Linked DNA regions of Homo sapiens: all the other regions are linked to region 3. The links are contacts of gene promoters, found by promoter capture Hi-C in blood cells and fetal thymus (Javierre and others, 2016). All regions are on one chromosome and are shown on one strand. The core of a region is centred on a gene start or on the middle of the fragment in contact, and the rest is flanking DNA. Distances in the headings are between cores, read along the strand shown.

Region 1 (4,253 bases), core at 1,009-3,508, 1.8 Mb before region 3:
GTTTATTCAACATTTCTTTCTCATTCTGCCATTCTAAAGACAAGAAATAAATAGAATAACAGCTCTATTATTCAACAACTGTTTGTTGAACAGCTATTACGTGCTGGGGCAGGGTGCTAAACACTGATATGTACAGAGAAAAAGAGAACTTTGCCCCTAAGGATACATGTTTTACTGTGAGATGGAAATATACTAACATATACTTAAATTATATTGTACTTGAACTATGATAGAAATAAAAAAAAAGAGGGAATTTGGAAGACTGACTAATTCTCTTTGAAACAGAAATGAAGTCAAAGAAGCCCAGCCGATTATCTACTTCTAGCAGTATTATTTGCCATAAATGAAAGTGCCATGGTCCAAATTTTCTTGGCCCTTGCCTCTTTATTGTGAAAGAGCATAGGGTTATTCTTCATAAAAAGTTATTTAATGACTTTAAACCACCCTCATTTATTCCTTACTTAAAAATAAAATTTTATTTGATCTACCACTAGATGACTTATTAAGAAAATAAGACACCCAAAGACATGTGCAACACAAAGAAAAAGCACAAGATTGCCAGGCACAGTGGCTCACGCCTGTAATCCCAACACTTTGGGAGGTCGAGGCAGGCGGATCACCTGAAGTCAGGAGTTCAAGACCAGCCTGGCCAACATGGCAAAACCCTGTCTCTACTAAAAATACAAAAATTAGCCAGGTGTAGTGGCCCATGCCTGTAATCCCAGCTATTCGGGAGGCTGAGGTAGGAGAATCGCTTGAACCCGGGAGGCGGAGGTTGCATGAGCCACGATCACGCCACTGCACTCCAGCCTGGGTGACGGAGAGAGATTCTGTCTCAAAAAAAATAAATACAAAATAGAAAAAGCACAAGATTACAGATATAAAGGTTGAAAGGGTATTTGAGAAAATTAAGAAACACATTCCTAATTTTAAAAACTCTAAGTAATCCATAAAAGTAGAGACCCACTTAACTGTAAGAAAGACAGTTTACCAACAATAGTGGAAAATATTATCCCAAATCAGTAACTCCAACTGCATTTCAATTAAAATCAGAAACTAGATCAAAATGTCATAACCACAAGTATTCTAACACTGATTGCAGTAAATACAAAAGTAAAATAACCTAACTGCAAAATTTATTTTAAAATTGTAAGAAAAAACAAATATCTAATATGTGATAGGAAAATATGAGAAGGAAATAAGTTACAATATATAAAAAAGAGAACTAGATATTAGAACATAATATAAAACCACATTAATAAAATTAAGGTGGTATTGATGTAAACTAGCAATAGACAAATTGATCAGTGGAATCCAGTCATGTTCAAAAGCAGACTCCATTGTATATGTGAGAATTTAATACATAATCACCTTGATTTTTCTCTTATAGTGAGGAATATGTGATTTGTTTAAAAAATTTACTAACATAAACAGGCATTCCTTTAGAAGAAAATGCTGTATTCAAAGAATAATTCCAAAATTATTAAGTAATATATGAGACTAAAAGCACTTGCAAATTACAAAGATTCTTTCTTTCTCTAGTGTCTTGTCCAAAAATGCAGCTGGGCTAGGTGTTTGTAACGTATGTGTGTGTGTGTGTGTGATGTATTATGATCTGAATGTTTATGTCTCCCCAAAATTTATGTTGAAATCCTACCCTCAAGGTGATAGTACTAGGAGATGAGGTCTTTGGGACATGATTAGATGAGGAGAGTGGGTCACTCATGAATGACATTAGTGTACTTATAAAAGAGATCTGAGAGCGATTTCTCACTCCCTGCACATGGGAGAACATAGCTAGAAGGCATCACCTATAAGCTGGAAAGGAAGCCCTTACCAGACACCAAATCTACCTCAGATTTGGACTTTTCAGAGCCCAGAATTGTGATAAATAAATTTCTGGTGTTTATAGCCTACCCAGTTTACATTATTTTGTTATAGCAGCTTGGATAGACTAAGACATTGTGTGTGTGTATACACATATATACATATATGTTATACATACATGTATTTTCTGGGAAATAAAATGGAAATAAAGGATATGTAGGAATTATGAAATTTAGGGTACAGGTGAGCTAATGTAGGTTCAGGGAAAAGAGAAAATGTGGAGTCAAGCTTAAATGTTTTTTAAAAGTATGATAAAATATCCAAGATATGTGTTGTTATTTTTATGCCCTCATAAAAATTAAGTATGTGACATGTATATTTTTAAAATATCCTAAAAATGATTTCAGATTAGAAAACAACTAAGTTACATTCATTTGCAATTAAATTATCTCTGTGAATATAGTTTAACCAAACATATTGATAGGCAATGAAGACTGTGGTTTCTATAATCACTAGGGATATTCCAGTTCACAAATTTTCATGGAATGTAGACCCCCCACTAAATGAAGCTTATACACAAAGGAGAAATATCTTTGAAATTGCTATTCCAATGCTTGGTAGCTTATATTCATTAAGTTCATGATAACATTTTCTCAGGAAGTTAATCTCCATGGATAGACCTTAAGGTTGAAGTTCAATTTATACCCTAGGTTAGCTCCTTATACTCTCTATCCACCATAGTTAGATATTAGAGCTTCTTAAAACTGTCACCTCTATTTGTTGCATCATCTCTGATTTCTTTCATCAGTGTTTTGTAATTGTCATTGTAGAGATTTTTCACCTTTTTGCTTAGCTGTATTCCTAGGTATTTTCATGCTCATGGGTAGGAAGAATAAATATCATGAAAATGGCCATACTGCCCAAAGCAATTTACAAATTCAGCGCTATTCCTAACAAACTACCAATGTCATTTTTCACAGATTAAGAAAAAAAAAAGATTCTAAAATTTTTGTGGAATAAAAAGAGCCCTAAGAGCCAAAGCAATCCTAAGCAAAAAAAAAAACAAAGTCAGAGGCATCATGTTACCTGACCTGAAACTATACTGCAAGGCTGCTGTAACCAAAACAGCATGGCACTGTTCCAAAAACAGACAGGTAGACCAATGGAACAGAATAGAGAAGCCAGAAATAAATCTGCACACCTAAAACAATCTGATCATTGACAAAGTCAACAAAAATAAACAATGGGGAAAAGACTCCTCATTCAATAAATGGTGCTAGGATGACTGGCTATCCATATGCCGAAGAAGGAAACTGGATCTCTACCTTTCACCCTATACAAAAATTAATGGAAGTCAGATTAAAGACAAATGTTAGACAGGAAAAATAACTAATGGGTACAAGGCTTAATACCTGGGTGACAAAATAATCTGTACAACAAACCCCCATGATACAAGTTTACCTATATAACAAGCCTGCACATGTACCCCTGAACTTAAAAGTTAAATTAAAAAAAAAAGATTCTAGAAGAAAACATAGAAAAACTCCTTCTCAATATTGGCCCTAGCAAAAAATTTATGGCTAAATCCTCAAAAGCAACTACAACAACAACACATTGACAAATAGGACCTAATTAAACTAAAGAGTGTCTGCACAGCAAGAGAAACTAAAGAGAGTAAACAGACAACCTATAGAATGGGAGAAAATATTTGCAAACTATGCATCTGACAAAGGCCTAATATCCAGAATCTATAAGCAACTTAAATCAACAAGCAAGAAACATACCCCATTAAAAAGCAGGCAAAAGGGCACAAACACACACTTCTCAAAAGAAAACATACAAGCAGCCAACAAATATATTTTTAAAATGCTCATAATCACTAATCATCAGAGAAATCCAGATCAAAGCCACAATGGGATACCATCTCACACCACTCAGAATGGGTTTTGCTAAAATGTCCGAAAGTCACAGATACTGGCAAGGCTGTGGAGAAAGAGGGATACTTATACACTGCTTGTGGGAATGTAAATTAGTCCAGACACTCGGGGGAGCAGTTTGGAGGTTTCTCAGAGAACTAAGAGTTAAACTATAATTGGATGCAGTGATTCCACTATCAGGTATGTACCCAAAGGAAACCAATCTGTGAATCTGGTCATTCTACCAAAAAGACACACGTACCCATACGTTCATCACAGTGCTATTCACAATAGCAAAGACATTTGCTAGATGCCAATCAACTCTGGATTGGATAAAGAATATGTGGTACATTTATACCATGGAATACTATGGAACCATAAAAAGAATGAAATCATGTTCTTTGCAGTAACATGGATGCAGCTGGAGGCCATTATCCTAAGTGAACTAATACAGAAACAGATAACCAAATACTGCATGTTCTCATTTATAAGTGGGAGCTGAACATCAAG
Region 2 (4,300 bases), core at 409-2,908, 1.6 Mb after region 3:
AGCAAAATTACTTTATCCATCGGCATATTTCTATCCCTGAAATATTTTTGTAATCATTATGTTGAAAGTGCAGGACCCAACATGATACAAATTGTTAACTTCCATTCAATGATTCCCTGTGGAAGGAATACTTTATAGGTAAAATAAATGCTTAATTATTACTAAACTGGATTCAAAATTATTAGACAGCAGACTGTTGGTCAGCTGAGCAAGTAGCTGGTTTCCCAGAAGAGGCTTTAATCTTATTACAAGTTATCAGAAAATTGCTTAAGCGTTCTATCAGCAAAGCAGATTTCTTTCCAGAAGGAGATTCTGTCCCAGGTTTGAACCAATTTTTCTTTGTCACAGTCCAATTTAATATTAAAAAGTCAGAAGGATATGTAACATTAAAGTGTCTTCCCTCTCCCAGCTTGGTACTGAGTATGCTGAAGTGAGGAGAGGGCATGGTTGGTCCCCCCCGCCCTTGCCTTAGTTTCCCCCTACCTAGCTGAAAATGGGAACAAACAAGTACTTTTGAAATCCATTTAGGCTCTCTGGGAATGGTGAATATTCAAAGCTGACTACTTATTTTGCAGGATTCTTTTTGTAGGGACTCAGAGCTTCACCCCACTTGGAATTCTTGACTGCTGCTCCCTTGTTAGGCTATGCCAGTTCTCTCTACAGCCGTATCCCAGCTTCTGTATTAAGTGCCCCATCCCAGCTTCTGTATTAAATGCTACACCTCCAACCTCTTTCTGCTGAAAGAGACTAGCCCCCAGCAAGAAGGCCATCTGGGTGGGATCCATTTTAAACTGACCACAGGACCACATCCCTCCCTCCCATCATATCTAGTTATGGAGGCTCATATCTCTGCCCTACCAGTGATAGAAGTCACAGATTGCTCTGAACTCAACCACCTCTCTTTGCTCTGCTTGGCAGTCATTTTTCAGACATCTCCAGCCACAGCCTTTCCTCTTTCCTTTCCTCAGGTATCGGTCAACGTGTCTTTCTAGCTCCAAGGAGTAAACACCGAGTTCTCAGAGAGGTTTTCTTAAAGACTGTCTCACTGAGCTTGGGGTGATGGGGCGACACCTTGCTTCTCTCTCCCACGGTGGGAGGGAAAAAAGCCACAGTTCCCTACTGCATTTCCCCAAAGAAATACTCTGGATCCTGAGGTGGGTGTTGGACTAAAAATCTTAAAACTCTTTTAAAATGCCCCTTTTGCACAACACAGGGAGTTTAGCACCTCATCTCAAAATGTAGCTATAACTATGGTTTTGTTTTCAGTCCCAGGTCTCAGCTAAAGCAGAGATAAAAGTCCTGTTTTTCAAATCAACAGAATTCAATACATATACCTTGTTTGGATCCTGATTTGAGTACGTAAACTTGAACAAGACATTTTTTAGACCATTGGGGAACTTTGAATGTAGGCTGACTACTAAACATTACAGAATCATCATTAACTTTGTCACTGTGATAACGGCATCGTGGGTATATTCTTTAAAGGCCTTATCTGTTAGAGGCATGTACTGAAATACATAAGGGTACTATGATATAATATTTGGCGCTTGATTTAAAATCCTCAGGGTTGGCAGGTAGGACAGTTTAGATAGAATAAACTTGGAAATGGTGACAGTTTTGAAGCTGGGTCTTGGGTAGATGGGGATTCATTATACTATTCTCTAATTTTGTGTGTGTTTAAAATGCTTACGTGAAGTTTAAAAATAAAATTAAAAATTGAAGAGAATATAATTTAATTCTACGAAATGCCTGACTAGTAATCCTCAAAACTGTCAAGGTCATCAGAAACAGAGAAAGCCTGAGAAGCATCTACCAGGAGCCTAAGGAGACCTGATGACTAGATGCAATGTTAGTATCCTTGGTGGGATCGTGGGACAGAAAAAGAACTTGAGGTGAAAACTGAGGACATCTGAATAAAGTACAAACTTTAGTTAATAATGAGATATTGATATTGGTTCATTAATTGCAACAAATATACCATTTATCATTAACAATGGTAGAAAATACTATTTATTAATATTAAGATATTAATAATAGGGTAACTGAATGTGGGGCATATGGGAACTCTACTATATTCACAATAATTTTTTTAATCAACAACTATTCTAAAATTAAAATTTTACTTTCTGAAAGTTTATTTTAGTATCCTATTATATGTTTTCATAATAACATTTCAAAATAATTTCTCAATGTGGTGCATGAGCAGATTCACCATTTCAGTATACAGGCATATAATTTTTTTTATTTTTAAATTTATGTTTTATCTCAATAGGTTTGGGGGAACATGTGATGTTTGGTTACATGAATAAGTTCTTTAGTGGTGATTTCTGAGATTTTGGTGCACCCATCCCTCAAGCAGTGTACGCTGTACCCAATATGCAGTTTTTTTATCCCTCACCCCCTCCCACCCTTTCCCCCGAGTATCCAAAGTCCACTGTGTCATTTTTATGCCTTTGCATCCTCATAGCTTAGCTTCCACTTATCAGTGAGAACATACGATATTTAGTTTTCTATTCCTGGGTTACTTCACTTAGAACGATAGTTTCCAGTTCCATCCAGGTTGCTGTGAATGCCATTATTTCATTTCTTTTTATGGCTGAGTAGTATTCCATGGTATATGTGCATATATATGTATACCACATTTTCTTTATCTACTCATTGATTGATGGGCGTTTGGGCTGGTTCCATATTTTTGCAATTGTGAATTGTGGGCATATAATTTAAATTTCGAGGCAACCCTGAAGTCATGCTCAGGCATAGATAGGACCAAACAGTTAACTTTCAAAGCACTAAAGCATATCTGAACTGGCATAAAGAAGAACAAGTAGATAATCAAATATACTAAAACCTTTATTAATGAAAAGAATGTATTACAGAAATAGTTCATTTCCAGAGGAAGAAATAATATAAAATGCAAAAGAATATATCTAGAAGTAAGGAAAAGTAAAGGAAAATATCATTATAATTAGCATTGAGTCCTTTAGAAAACAGGAAGTAGGCATCTGAAGGTATTGAGTGAGAAAAAGGTAAAGTTAATATTACATCAGGAGGCAACTAATCACAGATGCCACTGCTTGGACACACCAAGGAGGCAAAAAATGGCAAAGTCAGATTTTGAACAGAGTGTGCCCAGACTATGAGCTATCACAACAAGACAGGGAAGGCGAAAAAGGGCCAGCCACCAACTCGGGGGAAAAAGGGCCAGCCACCAGCTCAGACAAAAAGTAGGCAACACAGACCCCTCCCTTCCTAATATCCCCCAGGCGTGGACTTCAGCTGGTATCAGGTTTGCTTTTCCTATGGAAGCAAGGAGCCTATCCGGGGAAGAGATTCGTCCTGATTTCTTCTTAGTTCACACACACTTAAACTCCCGAAAGGGCTTGACTCAGATTTACCCGCAGGTCTGGGCTAGTGTGACAACAAGGGCCTTCGTGTCTTTAAAATAACTCATCTACTTCATGATGTCCTTGGTGAAACAGTGGATTGGTACACACATCCATTGCAATCTCTTTCTAGCTGGACTTTCTGTTTCTGTAGGGCTGGGAAGTTTAAAGCTACAAACCCTGGACATTCTTGCAATTAAGATTCCTCATGTGATAGAGTTTCCACCAGCAGAATTAAAATTGTAGATGTGGAGGGAGGGTATGAGTGAGGCAGGGGCCATCTGCTGCTGGTTCTGTGATAAGCACAGTCGCGGAGGAGTTTAGTTATTCTGTGCCATTGTTAACTGACTGTTCACTGGCTTGTGGGGCACCAAGAGGCAGGGCACAGGACATCTGTTTTACTAATTAATATCATAGCAAGCTTGGCGGGTCCCGGAGTGGCAGCTTTTTGGATGTGGCAGTTTCCAGAGCATGGCAGCTTCTGATGATGGCAGGGGATGCATTGTTTTGAATCCAGCAGCTATAGCAACAACTTCCCAATTCAGCAAATGGTTTCCTATTGCAGGATCAGTAGATCCCTTGATGGCCCAGTTCTGCAGTAAAAGTCCATCCTAAAACTTCAGCCTCAAAGTGGATCTCTATCTGATCTCAACATTTGAATTTCCAGGGGAGTTTATGCCCAAAGGTTTTGATTCATTATGTCAGCAATGGATTCCCGAATTGATATTCTAAAAAAGCAACCCAGATGCTTGTGATACGAAGCTCAGATTGAGAGTGAGTGACCAAGAGCCTCTTTCATTAGCCCTGCCAACAACTTCATAAGCCATTTAATGCCCAGTGTTAAACAATTTCTGTTTAAACTGTCTGGAATGGATTATTTTTTCAGTAACTAAACCTTGACCAGTGCAATGTCTGGG
Region 3 (4,799 bases), core at 1,454-3,953:
AGCCTGGGCGCGGTGGCTCATGCCTGTAATCCCAGCACTTTGGGAGGCCGTGGCGGGTGGATTGCCTGAGGTCAGGAGTTCAAGACCAACCTGGCCAACATGATGAAACCCCATCTCTACTAAAAATCCAAAAAATTAGCCAGGCATGGTGGCAGGCACCTGTAATCCCAGCTATTTGGGAGGGCTGAGGAAGGGGAATCACTTGAACCCCGGAGGCGGAGGTTGCAGTGAGCTGAGATCACGCCACTGCACTCTAGCCTGGGCAACAAGAGCAAAACTCTGTCTTGAAAAAAACGAAAAGGCTGGATGAAAGCTAAATTTACCATTTATTGAGTGTTGACAATGTGCTAGGTACTATTATATCATCTGACACTTTTTTTTTTTTTTTTTTTTTTGAGACGGAGTCTCGCTCTGTCGCCCAGGCCGGACTGCGGACTGCAGTGGCGCAATCTCGGCTCACTGCAAGCTCCGCTTCCCGGGTTCACGCCATTCTCCTGCCTCAGCCTCCCGAGTAGCTGGGACTACAGGCGCCCGCTACCGCGCCCGGCTAATTTTTTGTATTTTTAGTAGAGACGGGGTTTCACCTTGTTAGCCAGGATGGTCTCAATCTCCTGACCTCATGATCCACCCGCCTCGGCCTCCCAAAGTGCTAGGATTACAGGCGTGAGCCACCGCGCCCGGCCGACACTTTTAATCCTTACAAAAACCCTATTAGATTCATATTACTATCTGTTTTTATGGGGAAACTGAGGCTCAGAGAGCTAGAGTCACACAACTGGTAATTAACAGAGACAAGATTGGAACCAGCTGGGACTAACTCCAAGTCTATGCTCTAAACTATTAGGCAATACTGCCCAAATGAAAATGATTACATAGTAATTAAGTATATTAACAAAAAGATGATTTTGTATTCTTACTCTATAAATCAAAAGTCATGTTCAATTGTGGCAAGTAGGTTTTCTGAGAGATTTATCTTCATGAGAGATTTCAATAGATTGGTCTGGAAAACTCTGTGGCAACTCAAGGTAAAGTAAAAGGGAGGAGACGCAAAAACTGCTTTAACACTAAAAATCTGTAAACAAAGTTAATGGTAATCCCTCTATTGGAATGGAAATCCCAAATCAGTAATAATAGCTCATGAAAGCAAGGTGTCAGAAAACTGCTTTGCCAGCAAATCATTTGTCTGTTTAGAGCTCATCATTCTTTTTTCTTTTTTAAATCATCACGGATCAACATTTTTAATTTTTTTTTTTTTTTTTTTTTTTTTTAGATGGAGTCTCGGTCTGGAGTGCAGTGGCGCGATCTCGGCTCACTGCAACCTCCGCCTCCTGGATTCAAGCGATTCTCATGCCTCAGCCTCTGGAGTAGCTGGGATTACAGGCACGCGCCACCACACCGAGCTAATTTTTGTATTTTTAGTAGAGACGCGGTTTCAGCATGTTGGCCAGGATGCCCTGGGTCTCTTGACCTCGTGATCCACCCGCCTCTGCCTCCCAGCGTGCTGGGATTACAGGCATGAGCCACTGCGCCCGGACTTTTTTTTTTTTTTTTTTTTTTTTTTTTTTTGAGACCGAGTTTCACTCTTGTTGCAATGACGCGATCTCGGCTCACTGCAACCTCCGCCTCCCGGGTTCAAGCGATTCCCCTGCCTCAGCCTCCCGAGTAGCTGGGATTACAGGCATAAGCCACCATGCCCGGCTAGTTTTGTATTTTTAGTAGAGACGGGGTTTCTCTGTGTTGGTCAGGCTGGTCTCGAACTCAGGTGATCCGCCCGCCTCGGCCTCCCAAAGTGCTGGGATTACAGGCGTGAGCCACAGCGTCCAGCCAACGTTTTTAATTCTTAAAACTGTGTTTGAATGAGTGTTGGGTTTTTGTTGTTTGGTTTTCTTTGGGGTAAGGCGGTTATCACCTTACACAAAAAATTTACATCATAATATGAAAATGCCCATTGGTTCATTCAAGGAAAAACATAAAGAATTTCTAACAGAATGGATTAATGGGGTGGAAGAAATTTATCCATTCTCTAAAAATTTTTCAAATCCCAAAAACTTTTTTTTTTCATTTTACAAAATATTTACTTCAAACAGTAGCTGGCATTTTGCATTTAAGAGTTCGACCAAAAGGGACAGAAATATAAATTGCTAATTATTAGCAATGGAAATGAAAATGAATCAGAAGTGACAATAAAGATTTCTAAAATTACAAGTCGATGAAAAATGAATTTACTGTAAATTGGTTAACACAAATCGCTGTAGTAACATATCTGCTATGTGAAATTTTTAAAATAAAAACCAGGGCGGAGAAGGGGAGAAGGAGATCTCTTTCCAAGGCCCACCACCCAAATTCTAATTCTTAGTTCACAGATCCAAATAATAATAATGTGTTGTTCTATGACTTCTAGTATTAAAAGTAAATATAAATTTACTCTGCATATTAAACATTTACATTATTCTAGGACTTCTCCTTTAAATTACGATAGTACACACACAAAAACCTTATTTATCTAATTGCCTTTCGTTGGCACATAAAGACAAAGATCGTTTGCAACATAATCGCGTTCTGATAGGTTTGACCCTCTCTAGTCTTCGTAGAAGGTGGCCAAGGTTTCCGTTACCCCGGCGTCCCTCGGGCACCGCGGAAACGAAACTCCATCAGGCTCCGCCCCACGGTCTGCGGAGTGAGCCAATCAGGGCACAGCCTGCGTTGACCGCGTGCCGGGTGTCATGGCGGCCTGCAGGTACTGCTGCTCGTGCCTCCGGCTCCGGCCCCTGAGCGATGGTCCTTTCCTTCTGCCACGGCGGGATCGGGCACTCACCCAGTTGCAAGTGCGAGCACTATGGAGTAGCGCAGGGTCTCGAGCTGTGGCCGTGGACTTAGGCAACAGGTAAGGAGTGACGTGCGTTCACTGTATTGTCATAAGGTGTCTTGTCCAGCCAGCTTGAGCGTATTCATCTCCCAGGGTAGAAACCCGGTATCCCAGCTCTATTTAATCTCTCCTTACCCTAAACCTAAATTCCAAATTTCCCTTTCCGGGTTTGGAATGTGTCTCCTCGGACCCTCCTTCCCGCGCTATGTCGTTCTCTCTGTTGGTGTGTGCCGGGCTTCTTTGCTCCATCCGACTCTGTCCGTCCACCTGACTTCCGATCTCTTTACTTTCCGGGACCACTGGGCTCTTAAGTGGGAAACATTCCACCTAGGAATAACGAGTTGACGTGGGTGAGACGAGGCCCCCCGGGATGCTGGCCCGGACCCTGGAAGCTGGGGCTCTGATGCCCCTCGAGCTGGGACACAGACCTCAGCAGAGGCTCCGGGTGGCTAGTGCACCACGGGTCCCCCACGTCCCACTCCTCGGGCTCCTTCAGCCTCCTCTTCACCAGGAGCCTACCTTGTAGAAGTTGAACACCAGGTCCAGTTCACAGACATTGTGGAAATATTCGTTTAAGACCTGGGAGAGGAAGGCAGAGATGGTAAGAGATGGACAGGGAGAGAGCCACACACGCACAGAGATGGGAACAAGGTCATCAGAAAGAGACAGCAAAAAAAAGAGACCAAGAGGGAGGCAGGGGAGAGAGAGAGACAGTGACAGGGAGAGAGGCAAGGAGACACACAGAGAGAAACAAAAGCAAAGATCGATGCAAAGAGATGGCAAAAGGTCAGGCGCTCACACCTGTAATCCCAGCACTTTGGGAGGCTAAGACGGAAGGATGACTTGAAGTTAGGAGTACAAGATATCATGTCATCCAATCTAATTGATTGCCTAAAGTGTGACCACTATGACCCTGGGTTAGGAGGAAAAGGAAAAGTCAGTTTTTTGAACGCCAGTTATATGATCCTCGCAATCTTTTTAAACCTGTCGTAAAGGTACTATTACCCTCATTTTATAGTTAAGACTACAGAGGCTCAAAAAAGGTTAGATAACTTTCTAAGAGTCTATAAAAAAGTTAGTATTATGGGACTAGGTGGTTTTTGAATTTCTGTTTTTTGCTTACAAAGCCCATACTTTTTTTTAGGGGACCGCTTTTTAAAAAAAAAGTTTGCTTTAATCGTTCTTAGAATAAATGGAATTGCTAATGCAAACTTCATATATCTAAATTTTTTACGTGTACTTTGAAAAAATTTGGACCCCAGTTCATACAAAAAGCAAAAAAATCATTTTGAATCCAGGTCTCGCACTCTAACTTTGATAAGTAGTTGACATTGAACAGGTTAATTCACCATTTTCTTGTGCAAAGTGTGGAGAGTGGATTCCATCAAGGGTCTGCAAACTTTTCTATAAAGGACCAGATAATATATATATTAGGCTTTTTGGGGTACACACTGTGTGTATGTGTTTACAAACCCTTTAGAAATATTTTAAAAAACGGCCGAGCACAGTGGCTAACACCTGTAATCCGAGCACTTTGGGAGGCTGAGGTGGGTGGATCTCCTGAGGTCAGGAGTTCGAGACCAGCCTGGCTACAATGGTGAAACCCCGTCTTTACTAAAAATACAAAATTAGCTGGGCGTGGTGGCAAGCACCTGTAATTCCATTTACCTGGGAGGCTGAGGCAGGAGAATCGGTTGAACCCAGGAGGCAGAGGTTGCAGTGGCAGAGATCGTGCCATTGCACTCCAGCCTGGGTGATAAGAGTGAAACTTTTGTCTCAAAAAAAAAAAAAAAAAAAAAAAATATATATATATATATATATATATATATATAAACATTTTTAATTGAAGAGTAATATAGAAATAGGCCACAAGCTGTAGTTTGGTCACCCCTAGACTAGGTTATCTCTAAGGCTTATTCCACTCCCAGCATTC

What was found. The method cuts DNA at HindIII sites, captures the fragments that hold promoters and counts their contacts. A CHiCAGO score of 5 or more calls a contact.
Region 1: a fragment that was not itself captured here is called in contact with the fragment with the promoter of PNPT1 in region 3 in 1 of 17 cell types (M2 macrophages); the score reaches 10.9 in M2 macrophages.
Region 2: a contact is called between a fragment that was not itself captured here and the fragment with the promoter of PNPT1 in region 3, in 1 of 17 cell types (non-activated CD4 T cells). The highest score is 6.6, in non-activated CD4 T cells.

The regions. Positions count from the first base shown.
Region 1 is chr2:57,466,566-57,470,818 of GRCh38, reverse strand. No RefSeq gene overlaps it. Among named protein-coding and RNA genes, the nearest start is that of VRK2, 580 kb to the left of the region's middle. The HindIII fragment of the contact is 281 bases long and covers 2,118-2,398 here.
Region 2 is chr2:54,107,524-54,111,823 of GRCh38, reverse strand. LOC105374615 (a long non-coding RNA gene) reads right to left here. Exons shown (of 2, transcript XR_940093.1): 2 at 2,833-4,111. It also overlaps a transcript of ACYP2 not described here. Among named protein-coding and RNA genes, the nearest start is that of ACYP2, 5.9 kb to the left of the region's middle. The HindIII fragment of the contact is 4,296 bases long and covers 1-3,806 here.
Region 3 is chr2:55,691,748-55,696,546 of GRCh38, reverse strand. PNPT1 (polyribonucleotide nucleotidyltransferase 1) reads left to right here and starts at 2,703. Exons shown (of 28, transcript NM_033109.5): 1 at 2,703-2,884. The coding sequence starts at 2,724. RefSeq lists enhancers at 2,514-2,663, 2,694-2,753, 2,764-2,883 and a silencer at 3,454-3,513. The HindIII fragment of the contact is 6,564 bases long and covers 1-4,799 here.